Regions from separate parts of the Homo sapiens genome. Here region 1 is linked to region 2. Evidence: promoter capture Hi-C in human tissues and cell types (Jung and others, 2019). All regions are on one chromosome and are shown on one strand. Each heading gives the region's core, a stretch centred on a gene start or on the middle of the fragment in contact. The rest is flanking DNA. Distances are from core to core; before and after follow the strand shown.

Region 1 (4,404 bases), core at 483-2,982, 99 kb after region 2:
GGGAAAAACATGGCACATATACATGATGGAGTACTATTCAGTCATAAAAAAGAATGAGATCCTGTCATTTGCAACATGGATGGAAGTGGAGGTCATTATGTTACGTGAAATAAACCAGGCACAGAAAGACAAACATTGCATGTTCTCACTTATTTGTGGGATCTAAAGATGAAAACAATTGAACTCATGGTCATAGAGAGTAGAAGGATGGTTACCAGAGGCTGGGAAGGGTAGTAGGGGGTGCAGGAAAGTGGGAATGGTTAATGGGTAGAAAAAACCAGAAAGAATGAATAAGATCTACTACTTGATAGCACAACAGGGTGACTATAGTCAATAATAACTTCACTGTACATTTAAAAATAACTGAAGGAGTATAATTGGATTGTTTATAACACAAAGGATAAGTGCTTGAGGGGATGGATACCCCATCTTCCCTGATGTGATTATTGTGCATTGCATGTATCAAAACATCTCATATACTCCATAAATATATGCACTTACAATGTAACCACAAAAGTTAAAAATGAAACATTTAAAAAAAAAGAAATTTGGCTGCCTAGAGCACTAGAGCAGTAGACCAGTAGACCAGTGTCAGAAAACCTCTGTCTGAGCACCAGCTCCACCACAACTGGTGTGACCTTGGGTCAACCACTTCACCTGTCTGAGCCCTGGTCTCTCATTTGGGGAATGACCATGTTCACTTTAGAGTAAGTTGGAGCTCTTGTGAAGCTTCAAGGAGATAAGGCACAGTAACATTTGCAGACTCTAAAAGCAATAGGAGATGCAAGTGATTATGGTTATGTGGTTTTAGGGAGACTCTGGCCCACATTTGGCAATATGTGTAAGGCAGGAGGCCTAGGTAGAACATCAGGGTTGGGTACCTCCTTCCTTCACTGAGTCTTCTGACCCACCCAGATGACATGAAGACCTCTCTGTTGAGCAGGCTGGGCTTTCTGGCTGCACTCTGACCAGTCTTCCTGGAGGAACTGTGTATGTGTGGTTGTGTGGCATGGTGTTCCTCTGTCCTTGCCCATAGGAGGCTTCCCATCAGTCCAGTGTCTTACACACTCAATCTTGGAACCTCTGACACAGGCAGAGAAGTTGTAGCCTAGAGACTTGGCTCCTGGATGCCAGTGGGGGCCTAGAAGACTCTACCTGCTTAGGTCCAGTGTCTGTCACCAGAGCAGGCCTCTAGCAGCCAAGCCCCAAGACCTTCTGTGGGTTGACAAAGAGGGGGACACTTTGCCCCAGGGGCTGGGGAAACTGGGCAGAAGCTGGTTCTAGAGGTTCCACTGAGCAAGCTGAGGGCAGGCAGGACCCACAGCCTTAAGAGTAACTGGAGAGTTCCCTGCAGGGTGTAACCCGGCAGCGATGGGGCTGCAGGCAGCAGTCCCTCCCGCCCCTGCCCCTGGAGTCAGGGAAGCAGAGAGTGGTGGTATACTCTGTGAGGAAGGCCAGATTGTCCTCTCAAGGAAGAGGCTGGTTGGCTACAGGGGCTTGTTTCTAGCAATGATTAATTTACTCCTTGCTGGATTTGTTGGATGTCAGACCCAGGCGCTGAGCTGGGTGGCTGGGGAAGTGCCAGGGTTGAGAGGCTGCAGCAGCGGGGCTGAGTGGCAGAGACACCAGCAGGCGTGGGGGTTTACCAAGTGCAGGGTGTCTTAACAGGAAGAGAAACTCCCTCCAAAGCAGACCTTATGTGCACATCACCCAGAGATCTCTTTAAAATGCAGATTTGTTTACATTAGGTCTGGGGTAGGGCTAGAGGTTCTGCATTTCTAAAAAGTTCCCCGGTGATGCCCATGCTGCTGTCTCACAGACCACACTTTTGGTAACAAGGGTAGGGGAAGGGGGGTTAAGAGTCAGCACTCAAGGGAATCTCATGGCATTCAATTGCAGGGGCTGCAGCCAAGTCTCCCAGGAATCAGGAGTTGTCAGCAGGGACAGATTGTCTCTCTGGAGCTGCACTGGTCTCTTGTCTGCACATCTGCTCTTTTCTCCTCTAGTCTGGCTTCCTCTGCAAGCAGTTGTAACTTGGCTTGCCCTTGACTGTCCTTACCATTGCAAGGACCCTGACCTCAGCCTCACAGCACCAGCACCCAACTCTGTGGGGGCTGTAGCTTTTTTGTCTCTTCAGACTTGTTTTTCCTCTCAAGATTCTGATTGGTTTAGCCCTGTCAGGTGACCACACTCAGTTTAAGCAGCTGTGCTAAGGGGCCAACATGCAGAGCTTCTCTGGAGCCCTTTCAAGCAAGGTTAGGGGACCCCACCCAGTGGGAAGACTCAGTGAGGTGGGTTAAGAAAAATGCAGCCTAGCCAGGCGTGGTGGCTCACGCCTGTAATCCCAGCACTTTAGGAGCCAACGCTGGTGGATCACGAGGTCAGGAGTTCAAGATCAGCCTGGCCAATATGGTGAAACCCCGTCTCTACTAAAAATACAAAAATTAGACGGGCGTGGTGGCGGGGGCCTGTAATCACAGCTACTTGGGAGGCTGAGGCAGAGAATTGCTTGAACCCTGGAGGCGGAGGTTGCAGTGAGCCGAGATCACACCACTGCACTCCAGCCTGGGTGACAGAGTGGTGAGACTCCATCTCAAAAAAGAAAAGAAAAGAAAAGAAAAGAAAAATGCAGTCTTGATAAACTTTTTCAAACATTATCAGAAACTTTAAAAAAAGTGAAAATTTCAGCATATATTTTGGCTGCTTTCCAAAATGCACATTTAGTTTGTATTATTCATGGAACTAGGTGGGTGGGCACCATAATCTTCTTGCTAAAGGCCCTGGAAGGAGCAAGGGCTTAGGGTGAGCCCCAAATATGCCTCAAAGAGAAGTCAACAGGGGGCGTGTAGAGACCAAGGACCTGTGGACTGAGACACATTAGGAGGTGGAGGAGGAAAGAACCTGAGATGGGGCTGTTTGTTGGTTCATGTGCCCCAGGTCAGATCAACTGTGAAGAAGCTGCTGTAGCATCTTTGTAGCCCAGGAACAATGACCCAGGCACTAGATCTCAGGTGCATGAGGAGGGACTGAATTTAAGTGACAGCAATAGAGTCTGGAGATGGGGAAGGGTTATGGCTCATTCACTTGGGTTTCTAGACCTAAAAATGTACAGATATGGAAACAAGACCTACAGAGATTCTGACCCACTCAAGGTTAACCTCCCAGTTGTGGCTGAGCTAGCCAAGAAAGTCAGTGTCCTGACACCCAGCCATGAGCTTTTCTGAAATTGAGGGGACTCTTAAGAATACATAATACTACTAAGCTTTTCGTTCACACAGAGTTTGCAAAGCAGTCATGGAGGACTCTCTGAAGAAGGGCAAACGGTCCCTGATGGGGAGGAGCTGCTTGCTGCAGGAGCTCGTTGCCAGCAATTATTAATTCACTCCTGCTGGATCCGTCTTGGGGGCCTCCCGCGCACAATAACATTAGGAGTGTTGGCAGCTGCGGAGGGAGAAGCCCTGCTCAGAGGGAGGAAGGTGGGACTCGTCACAAGGTTGCTCTGCTCCCAGTTCCTGCTCTTGGGAGAAATGCTCAGTGCTTTTGGGCCTGGGATCAGGCTGCTAAGGACACAGTGTTCTGGGGATGGTGGCAGATCTTGGAGAAGGGACAGAAACTGGGCCAAGAGACTGGAACTTATGCAAATCAGGCCTGAGGATGGCTCAAGGAGGGGGCAGCCCCTGCCTCATGCCTCCTCCCTCAATATATCCAGAGCCAAACACCTCAGGAATGAGGAAAAAGAAATCTTCAGGAGGAACATAATCTTTCACCATCAATGCTAAGCTTTGTAGGAGGGTGTGTAGGTGTGTATGTGTAGGGAAAGCAGTGAGCCCTCGTTTTCTCTTGAATCCTTTCTTGCTAAAATATTCCACACTTCTAAATGCCTATGGGGCAGAGAGGTTTAGCAGAAAGAAAACTTGGTGGGTAAAGAAGCAGGAGAACAGGGTTAATAATTGCATTAGGCCTGGGAGCAGCTGAATGCATCTTCTGGGGTCTGGAGGTCTCTCCAGAATTTTTTTTGAAGGGTCAGGTTTCTCAGAGCTGCTGCGTACTGTTGTGCAGGCTGGGCACTGAACAGTTCCAGGGGCTGCCAGTCCTACTGTGAAGGTGAAGCCCCCAGCAGCAGCCTTATTTTGTGTAAGTTATTAAATTAGGGATGACCTATGGCAAAACTGTGAAATTTAGAAACAGTGTCTTCTACTCTGTTCTCCATGCCCCTCCTTTTCCTGTTTGGCAACTCATGTTCTAGCAGTTGCCTAGCCAAAACTGTCTATTCCCCAGTTTAAAACTTTCCCTTCTTTTTTCCTCGCAAGTCATTCCACTTCCTTGATTTCCTCAGCATGACTGACTTGAAGAGAAAGTCCATCTGACAAACAGTGTGCTAAGGGAAACAGTCATAGAATCATA
Region 2 (4,064 bases), core at 1,147-3,646:
GCGGGAACGCTCCGGGCTTCCTGCACTGGCAGGCGCAGCCGGCCCACGCCCGCCCCCTGCTGTTACCACGAAGCTGACAGTTGCGGTGGTGGTGAGCGGGGGACGGCCGCCGTCGGATATGACCAGGAGCGCCCTGAACACGCGACCGGGTGGCTCCTGCGAGAGGTCGCCGGTGAGCAGTATCTCCCCCGTGCGGCGGCCGATGGCGAAGGCTTCGCGCGGCTCCTGCTGCTGCAGCTCGAACGCCAGCTCCCCGTTGGCTCCCTCGTCTGCATCCCGGGCCTGCACACGGGCCACAACCGTGTCCTTTGCGGTGCGCCCAGGCACCGCCACTTCTAGGGAGCCATTGGCTGGCGCCGGGTGCACCAGGACTGGCGCATGGTCGTTCTGGTCCAGCACGCGCACTTGCACTAGGGCGCTGCTGGAAAGCTGAGGGGAGCCGCCGTCGCTAGCTTGGATGCGAACGTCGAGTTGGCGCAGCGTCTCATAGTCGAAGCTGCGCAGCGCGTAGATGGCTCCGGTAGCTGGGTCCACCGAGACATAAGTGGACACGGCGCCCCCGGCGCGGCCCACCTCGGCCTCCAGCAGCCGGTAGGTGACCTGGCCGTTGCGGCCCAGGTCCCGGTCGCGGGCGGCCACCGTGGCCAGGTAGGCGCCTGGCGGGTTGTTCTCGCGCACCGACACCTCATAGACCGGCCGCGTGAAGAGCGGCGCGTTGTCGTTCTCGTCGCCCACACGCACCGTGTAGGGCCGCACTGTGCGCAGCGGGGGCGCGCCGCGATCCTCGGCCACCAGCGTCAAGTTGTACTCGGCGATGCGTTCGCGGTCCAGCGACGCCGCGGTCACCACCAGGTAGCTGCCCGCGTAGGCCGGCTGCAGCCGGAAGTGCTCGTGCCCATAGAGGGCGCAGCGCACTTGCCCGTTGGCGCCCGAGTCCCTGTCCGAGGTGCTGACCAGGGCCACCAGGCTCTCGCGCGCCGCCCCCTCCGGCACCAGCGAAGTGGCACCAGCCTCCGGCGTCCCGGCTCCCGCCGGCGAGCTAGCGTCCGCTCCCCCGAGTGCAGCGGCGGCGGCGGCAGCGGCGAAGGGTGAGGTTGCCGGCGCGCCTGGGGCGGCCAGCGGGGTGATGGCGATGTCGGGTGCGTTGTCATTGACGTCTCGGATGCGCACGATGACCTTGCAGGTGGCAGCGCGGGGCCCGGGTCCGCGGTCCTGCGCCCGCACGTCCAGCTCGTAGGTGTCCTGACGCTCGTAGTCCACGGGCCCGGCCAGGGTGAGGCGGCCTGATCGCGGGTCAAGCCGAAAGAGGCGGCGCGCCTCCGGCGGGGTGCGGGCGCCAAATGCGAACACCACGTCGCCGTTAGGTCCCTCGTCGGGGTCGGCTGCGTCCAGGTCGAGAAGCAGGGAGCCCACGGGCGCGTCTTCCGCCAGCTCCACTTCGGCCACGGCGCCCTGCGGGAAGGCCGGGCTGTGGTCATTCGCATCCAGGACGCGCACGCTGAGGGCAGCCGTGGCGGAGCGCGGCGGGCGGCCGCCGTCCTGGGCCACCAGCTCCAGGCTGTAGGCGGCCTGGCTCTCGCGGTCCAGCTCCTGCAGCAGCACCAGGTCTGCGCACTGAGCGCCGTCCGCTCGCGTCTGCAGCTCCACGCGAAAGGGGCTGTGCGGCTCGGCCAGGCGCACGGTCTGCAGCCCGTTGGCGCCCACGTCCTCGTCCACCGGCACCTCCAAGGGGATGCGCGTGCCCACTGCCGCACCCTCGGACACCTCTACCGGGATCTGGGCCCTGGGGAAGCGCGGCGCGTGGTCGTTGACGTCCCTCACCTCTACCTCCACGTGCACCAGCCGGAACTGCTCCTGCGAGAAGCTGACCACATCGAAGGCCAGCACGCACTGCGGGGCCTGGCCACACAGCCGCTCGCGGTCCAGGCCGGCGTCCCCGACGGTCAGCTGCCCGTCGCCTTCGCGCACCCGGAGCAGAGAGCTGTTGAATTGCTTCATCAGGCGGAAGCTTGTGTCACCCGATACTTTCATATGCAGGTCCTCGGCCAGGGTCCCGATGACCGTGCCGGGGGCATCCTCCTCGAAGGTGCTGTATCGGACTGTTTTGCTCTGGGCCACTGAGAGCACCCAGCAGAGGCTGAAGAGCTGCAAGGGGAAAAGGCAGGGGCTGCCCCAACGCCTCACAGGACTCATGCCTCCAGCCTCAAGTGCGATCCGAAAGGCTAAGGAAGTCTTCTCTGGTTTCCAGGTCGGGCGTCAGTCTCAGGCTCTCGGAATCACGCTCTTTGCGAGCCCTGTGCGGGAGAAGTCTGCGGGTAGCAGCTCCGAGCCTCCAGCGGGCTCTGAGGACGCGCGGACCCGCCCTCACTCTGCGCCTCTCCGTCTCTTACAGAAGCTGCGCCGCCTCGCGCCGCCTTTGCCTTTATAGCCGCCGATATGCTAATCACCCGAGCCGGGTAGCCAATGGCCGCCTCCCCCTCGCGTCGCCCCTCCGCCTGCCTCTGACAATCCCTTTAATGTGGAAAGGCTTAGAGGGGAAAACAAGAAAGGAAAATTAGGGAATCTTTCTTTTGTTTAACTCCTTTTGCTTTTTCCCCCTTTTCTTGTCAGCACCCTGCATGTAGAGGAGTTGGCACAGGGCTCCAGGAGTAAAAGGAGCGGATGGTTTTGTTAATTGTCGCCTGCCTCCCTCCGTGCCGCGGCTAGAACTAAGTGCGAACACGCTGGGGTTTCACCCCAGTGGCTCCTGATTCCGCCTTCCCCCAGCCCCTGCCAACACACACACTCTGCATTTTGCACCTCTGACGCTTCCAAACCCTTGCAGCCCCCTACCCACAGACTTGCTCTGCTGAATGAGGCTCTGCTTTCCTTCTCTCCTAGCTACGGTGCCTGGAATAGCCTCTCGATTAAGAAGCCTGAAGGATAAGGGAAAATTGATTTTATTCAAATTTGTGTACTCAATTGTGTTTTGCTCGTGTGAGCCCCAGTGATCAGAGCTGCCACTTCCCTTTCAGAAAAGAGCCCCGCGATATGTTAGTATGCACGTCACTGTCCAAGTGGCCTTCTTAAGCCCTGGGAGCTAGCAGGCAAGGAAAAAAAAGTTCCAAATAGGATTTAGCATAAGCTTGAGGAGATTTGGAAAGGTTTCAAAGATCAGACTGTATCAAAGGCTTATGAAGCCCTCGTTAGCAGTGGAAATAGAATGGTGTGGCAGGCGATCCCATTGGAGGCCCCAATGTCTGTATTATTTCACTGTGACAAGCTAAGGGGAGAGAAAGTTGAACAGTTTCCACAGCGGAGTTGGACTAACTTGAATATAATGAGCAAACGCCACATGTATCCATTATGTTCCTCTATTCATCCCCAATCACTGCCATAACTCTCCGGCTAAACGGTGATGGGCGCTGAATTCCACACAATACCCGGCTCGTATTAAAGTGCATTTAGAGAACTTTTTCCTCCTGATGCCTTGTTCCGCCTATTTAGAGGATTTTCTTTCTGTTCTAATAGGGCCACTCTGGGAAGCAACACTCGTCCGGTTCCAGAAGAACAAAATCACAGCGTGACGTTGAAACCTGGCAGGAACGTGGGGGGAACTTAACCATCTGCTTAGGAAAGTGTGGAGCTTCGGCACTGCCAAAATCTGGGCTGGGCGGATCCTGGGGCTGGCCGGGCGCTGCGCTGCCCCACAGATAGCCCCCTCCCATCCCTGACGGCCAGGGAGATGGAGCTCGGATCTGCAACAAGACGGATTCTTAATGATTCTTACTGAAGGGCTTTATTGAGCAGGCTATGCAAATACACACGAAGGAGGAAAGGTAAAAAACAAAAGCCACTCACTGGAAGAAATTTTTCTTTTTAGGCGATAGGTTTGGTAAGTAGATTGAATTCAGTAAACATTCTTCAGAATCCCGATTTTGGTCCTGCTGTCAGCGTCCTATCCATGTTTTCCTTTCCCTCAAACTCGAGGGAGTGTGTTTTGGGTTTTTTTTCAGAAGAGGGTCAGGAGTTTCCTTGGAGTAGGGAGACCAAGCAGGGAGCTGGGTGGCAGGGATGAGAGGTGC

The links. The method cuts DNA at HindIII sites, captures the fragments that hold promoters and counts their contacts. A contact is called where the count stands out against the background at its distance.
Region 1: a fragment that was not itself captured here is called in contact with the fragment with the promoter of PCDH8 in region 2 in 2 of the 25 tissues and cell types used here (H1 embryonic stem cells and dorsolateral prefrontal cortex).

The regions. Positions count from the first base shown.
Region 1 is chr13:52,946,406-52,950,809 of GRCh38, forward strand. No RefSeq gene overlaps it. Among named protein-coding and RNA genes, the nearest start is that of OLFM4, 80 kb to the right of the region's middle. The HindIII fragment of the contact is 3,578 bases long and covers 1-3,521 here.
Region 2 is chr13:52,846,244-52,850,307 of GRCh38, forward strand. It overlaps PCDH8 (protocadherin 8), which reads right to left and starts at 2,397. Exons shown (of 3, transcript NM_002590.4): 1 at 1-2,397. The coding sequence starts at 2,193. RefSeq lists enhancers at 582-1,470, 1,471-2,360, 2,491-2,785. The HindIII fragment of the contact is 11,047 bases long and covers 1-4,064 here.